Linked DNA regions of Homo sapiens: region 2 is linked to region 1. The links are contacts of gene promoters, found by promoter capture Hi-C in blood cells and fetal thymus (Javierre and others, 2016). All regions are on one chromosome and are shown on one strand. The core of a region is centred on a gene start or on the middle of the fragment in contact, and the rest is flanking DNA. Distances in the headings are between cores, read along the strand shown. Region 1 holds the start of CCDC150 (coiled-coil domain containing 150). Region 2 has its middle 9.9 kb from the start of MARS2.

Region 1 (3,003 bases), core at 223-2,722:
TTCCCTGACTGCTGCTTAATATGGAGATTTGAGGAGAAGGTGAAAACTCTCATTACACAAAAACACGTGGATACATGTATCACTCATCTCTTAATTCCACTGATAAACCAGAGGTCATTGCAAGATAAAACATACATAATGAAAATAATTGGCTGTTTGCACTGACGCTTTAAAATACATTTTCATTTCCTATTAAAAGCTTTATTTGGTCCCTTTCTCTGAATAATGTATGCAGTGCTCATTTCTCTTCACCGGATCGGCTCAAAGCTTGATGAATATGGCTGTGGTTTGATGGGCAGTCTCTGCATCTCACATTGAGGCTCCGCTATGAAAAGAATTAGAATAGCAAGATCAATTGTCAGGCTAAGTAAATGAGCTCTCATCTCGGATCTGATTGCTTATATGAGAGGGCTGAAGTGATTCTTGGCTGCACTCTCAGGGAGAAGAGAGAAATGCATTTTAATTGCCCTGGCAGGGATAACAGGTGTTCTGTCCAGCTACCAAAACGCAAAGCCGCGTCTTTGCACTATAGAAGGCTTTCCCTTAAGTGAGAATACATATTCTTAAAGCAAAACAACTCAGAAACGCTGGTGTGGTGATGCACGCCTGTAATCCCAGGACTTTGGGAGGCCGAGGTGGGCGGATGGCTCGAGCCCAAAGAGACCAGCCTGAGCAATATGGTGATGACCCCGCCTCCACGAAAAAATACAAAAATTAGCCAGACGTGGTGGCGCGCGCCTGTGGTCCCAGATACTGGGGAGGCTGAGATGGGAGGATCGCTTGAGCTCGGGAGGTCGAGGCTGCAGTGAGTCGAGATCGCACCACCGTAATCCACCCTTGGCGACAGAGGAAGACCCTATCTCAAAAAAGCAAACCACCAAAAAAACCAGGGACAGCTCAATGCTCTTTTCCGTTTCATAGCTACTTACACTCAGATTTACAAATACCTATTAACTTGTAGACAGGGCAAGAAATAATTTATGCTGAAGAGACGAAAGACCTGAAAACAGATTTCTGTGTTTTACTCTCCATGTGGCCATCATGGACGAGGACGAAGAGGGACTTGATTTTTCCTTTAACGAGAAGAATGTTTAAGCTCTGAATTTTTAACCAATTTTTATGCTCGTTACTCTGCTGTAGGGTATGTATTTACCAAGATTAGCAGAACACCGCGAGTTCACCAGGCGGAGACAAGTCACTGTGAAGTGGGCAGCACAGGACCCCCCGGAGGGCAGGCGCCGGAAACTACATATCCCGGCGTGCCCCGCTCGCGAGCACAGTGGAGCCTGCCGCCATTCGGTTCACGGCGCTACGCATTCCCTGAGCGCCGCCGGATGCCGGCCTGGGTCCCGCCCAGGGCTGAGGGCCCTCCTGGGCCGGGAAAACTACAGTTCCCGACATGCCCTGCCACGGGTGCGCCTGCGTACCGGAGCTACTGCGCCGGGGAGCGGGTTGGTTTAAAATGCTGTGTTAGTTCCACGGAAACCCGCTCGCCTGCTGCAGTACGGAGCCTCAGGCGGACAGATGGACTGTAAGGTGAGGCTGCCGGGCCCCGGGCTGGTGAGGGGTGGTCGGAGGCTCGCGAGGCTTCGGCTCAGATAAGGACAGTCACCACTCCCTGGCGCCCTCTCCCTGTCCTGACGGAGTCCAGTCTCACTCCCTGGACCTCAGGGCCCTGATTTAAGGCGCTTTGGCGTTGGCTGCCGGTGAAAGCCATTTAGGAGCGAAGTTTGCATTGGCCTGGCTCCAGCTGAGGGATGGGAGATAGCCACCGAAGCCTCCAGATAAGCCCAATACCACCTTTATTTATGTGTTAAGTTGGAGTTTAATAGGTTCCTGGGAAGGCTATTTCGGCGTTAATGTTTGATTTTTGCCACCAGTTAATCCTCCCTGGCTTGCTTACCAGAATATAGGTGTCAGGAATTTGCACTTGTTCTTTACGGTTTCCGCAGTACCTGGCGCTCTTGCTAGAACGGAATAGACATTCGTTAAATTCCTGTCGAAGTATTCTCCTGTTTATTTACCACCTATAATTTCCCAGGCACTGTATTAGGCTCTAAAGATAGAAAAATGTCTATTTTTAACCCCACTTTAGAGAAGTTCGTATTAGTCCGTCTTAAATGCCCCCCAACACATGCTTCTAATTTGTTAATCTTGGCGTGCTCAGGACTAGGTCCTTTAATCCTTTGTGTTCTCTGTTATCCCGCCTTATGGTTTTCTTGAGCTCTTCAGAAATTAGTCTCCAGTCCACACCTCACCCCCAAACTTCAGATCCACAAATTCAATAATGTATTTGGTATCTTTCATGTTTTAAATTTGACATTTTAAAAACTACTCTTTATCTTTTCCACAAAACGGATTCTTCCTTAATAAGTTTGCATTGTCTCAGTGATAGCACCATCCAGGCCAAAAACCCTGTAGTAATCTTGGCTTCTTCCTTTCCCTCATATCTCATATCTAATGCATCAGCAAAAGCTATCTTTCAAGTATATCTAACCACTAACCACTTCTTACAGTAGGAATACCGCTGCTGTCACCTTGGTTCTGGCCAGCAGCATCTCTACTTCTGCTTTTGTTCTTCCACCATTTGGAGTGGGAGGGAGTCAAAATGATCCAGTTAAAAGGAAAGTTGGATAGCATTCCTCAGCTATAGACCTCCAGTGACTCTGAGAATCACTGACAGCAAAAGCCAGACTTCTACAATGGCCTTCAAGGCTCTGTGTATTCTGTTTTTTGTTTTTTTGAAACGGAGTCTCGCTCTGTCGCCCAGGCTGGAGTGCAGCAGTCTCAGCTCACTGCAAGCTCCGCCTCCTGGGTTCACACCATTCTCCTGCCTCAGCCATCCGAGTAGCTGAAACTACAGGAGCACGCCACCACGCCCGGCTAATTTTTTTTTTATTTTTATTTTTGTATTTTTAGTGAGACGGGGTTTCGCCGTGTTAGCCAGGATGGTCTCGATCTCCTGACCTCTTGATCTGCCCGCCTCGGCCTTCCAAAGTGCTG
Region 2 (3,142 bases), core at 262-2,761, 1.1 Mb after region 1:
TCTGCTTATGTGTGCTGTGCAAATTGTTAAAATTTTAAATAACTGTATAGTCCCTATTTTTGTTTGTCCTTGTTTTCTTATTTTGTTTCTTAATTTTAGAATGATGTTCCAATTTCTAGAATCTAGCAGTTCTCTAAGTGAAAGTATATAGTCATAAATTCATGAATCTAAGTATTTTTTAATGATATTTTACTAATTATTTAAATATACATTTATCTCTGAACATGAAAACATCAACATTCAAAAGTTTTATTTGAATTAACTATTATAGTGACAAAGCCAGATAATTTTATTAGAGGCCACAAACACTGAAACTTTTTCATACATACAGTTTTAATGCAAATGAACTTATTAATATGACATCCATTTATTAACAATTTAAGTTCTATGAATTTATCGAACATTTATTACTGTATTCTTATATCTTTCCTAACAAGCCTGCAGAAACCAGATTAAATATCCTTGACAGTGGTTATTACCAAAGCAAATACCACCCTGTTAGCTAAAATGCCACAGATTGGATAATTCCTGGTAAATTAAACACCTCATATCACAGTTGAGATAAGCTCTTATACCCCCAAACTAAGAGACTTTACTATGAATTGCATAATGAATACACAATGCTGTATTTTACATTTTTTCTGAAGTGTAGCTATTTTGTTGGACATGATGTGTCTTTGAAGAAATGTGTTGAATCTTATTTTTATATAGGTCTCTTAGCTATCATCGAAAATGTATTTAAAAAATATCAAAAGGCATTAAAGTTCTTGCTAACTTGGAAGGCCAGGAAGACCTATATTTTTATTCCATGTTTAAATAATTTTTTTCAGGATTCTGTCTAAATGCAAGCAGTATAGTCCCACAGCAAAGCATGATGGGTGCTTTTTCAGTTTTTTTTTTTGGTATGGCAGGTTACGACTTTTTGACAGAATCAGATTGATAGATCATACAAAATGTCCTGGGTAGCATATTTTAGATTACCTTTAAAACTCACTTAAGGAATTTATAAAGGCTTTCTCTTTTTTTTTTTTTGAGGTGAAGTCTCACTCTGCTGCCTAGGCTGGAGTGCAGTGGCGTGATCTCGGCTCACTGCAACCTCTGTCCCCCGAGTTCAAGCAATTCTCCTGCCTCAGCCTCCTGAGTAGCTGGGATTATAGCCACCTGCCACCGTGCCTGGCTAATTTTTGTATTTTTAGTAGAGACGGGGTTTCACCATCTTGGCCAGGCTGGTCTTGAACTCCTGACCTCGTAAGGTAAGAAAGGCCTCCCAAAGTGCTGGGATTACAGGTGTGAGCCACCGCTCCCGGCTTATAAAGGCTTTCGTAAAGAGTCTTCAATTTTGGTAAATTGAAGTTACTGCATTAATTTTTTACATTTAAATTTCTATAAAATTTATTTTACAGAAACATCCTATATTTTATATAAAAAGCAAAACAGTACTGAGTTCTGTTTGATTTTATAAGTAATTACTGGAACATTATATCAAGTTAAAATGTGTGAGAAGCCTATTGATTTATAGAATAAAATTATAAGTACTAACATAAGCAAATTTTTGAAAATATATATGGTTAATTGCATGAACGCTGATGATTGCATTTTCGTGCCATTTTAAGAGTTGAAAAAAGTATTTTTTGGCTTGGCTATAAAGGAAATATTTTTAACATTCATTGTGATATTGTTTGACCTACTACAAACAATAATAATAGTCCTCAAAATAGTAAGTTTTTTCTTATTTAAATGTTATGTACATAAAAATCAGCCTCTAGAAGGTAGTTAATTCATAACAAATTTTAAATAAAACTTTTGGTTGTAACTGATGTCCTAAAATTAGTTTTTTAGCTTAAGGAGAATATGTAGCACTTCTTTCTTTTTCCATAATCCATGGAGATGATCTAAAAGTGGAGCTATCAGCACTGGGGCATAAAACCAATATAAATGTATAACTGTGTAGCTATTGTAAAAATTGAAATCAGTATGATATCAGTTAGAAAAACATAGGAAAAATAGTGAAATCTTATTGCTTAACACAGAGTAGAGAGAAGGGGACTACCCAAGTTAAACCAAGTTATCGAAACTCATCCTTGGTAAGTTGGTTGAGGCAGATGTTTAAATATTCAGTATGTGAAGGTAGGTAGGTGAGTCTGAGCTCAAGAGTTTTAAACAAATTGTCTAAACAGCTAGGGCATAAGCATGAAAATCTATTTGGTAAACGTAGGATTGTTGCTGCATTTATGTTCATTTTTCCTTAGACATAAGGAAATAGACAACATTAGGATATTAAATATGTTACTTTAATTGAAAGCTATTCTCACAGACAGTTGGAAATAGCCTGAATAAAATAATGCTAACAGGTTAACTGAAGTCAGTATGTGGGTACCTATATAGGGCAGGAAAAATTTACACGTATTAGTATCTTTTAAAATACTATGCGTAATAGTTCAGATACTAATAAGGATTTTAGGAAATTTCTTTTATGTGTTGCTACAAATATATAAATGAATATTGTGTAGCTTTATTTTGGTATCAAAATTAGACATGTTAAAAGCAAAGATCCTGAGTGTGATTAGCAATTAATACACATTGTATTAAAATCATCTCAAATTGTTAATGAATACTTTAAAATTATCATCCTTTAGATGTTTTCTCCAAAACATCAAAGGAAAAAAAGGTATGCTTTTTAGGCAATACTTTTTATAGTAATGAAACGTTTATATACTATCATTGTGTTGTTTCACAGCTGTATGAGGTTAAAGATGAAAGTTTAGTCTCGGTATCTTCATTCATTTTTATACCATGATTTATAAAAATGATGTTGATAATTAAAAGTTAAAGCATTGATCTTTTGTAGTTATTAAAGGTATTTTTGCTATCATGGATATGTTATATTACAAAATAAGAGCCAAATATCACAATTTAAGCAGAGTAAGTTTTTTGGGGGGAATACATTAATAAATTTTCCTACCATCTCTGTTCTTCTGTACTTTATAGTTTGGAGTGAGAAATAAAGTAATATATAATATTTGTAGAACTGAACGAAAGTAATGTGGAAGCACATCAATACATTTTGGTAAAGAGCCAATTGCCTAAAATAGCTAAGAAAAACACTTCGATATCAATCTTTCTTGAACTAATATACAATGAC

What was found. The method cuts DNA at HindIII sites, captures the fragments that hold promoters and counts their contacts. A CHiCAGO score of 5 or more calls a contact.
Region 2: a fragment that was not itself captured here is called in contact with the fragment with the promoter of CCDC150 in region 1 in 1 of 17 cell types (total B cells); the score reaches 5.2 in total B cells.

The regions. Positions count from the first base shown.
Region 1 is chr2:196,638,243-196,641,245 of GRCh38, forward strand. CCDC150 (coiled-coil domain containing 150) reads left to right here and starts at 1,473. Exons shown (of 28, transcript NM_001080539.2): 1 at 1,473-1,536. The coding sequence starts at 1,525. It overlaps LOC105373823 (a long non-coding RNA gene), which reads right to left and starts at 1,443. Exons shown (of 2, transcript XR_923747.3): 1 at 1,154-1,443; 2 at 186-325. RefSeq lists enhancers at 985-1,204, 1,225-1,274, 1,259-1,796, 1,797-2,334. The HindIII fragment of the contact is 4,677 bases long and covers 266-3,003 here.
Region 2 is chr2:197,713,723-197,716,864 of GRCh38, forward strand. No RefSeq gene overlaps it. Among named protein-coding and RNA genes, the nearest start is that of MARS2, 9.9 kb to the left of the region's middle. The HindIII fragment of the contact is 6,138 bases long and covers 1-3,142 here.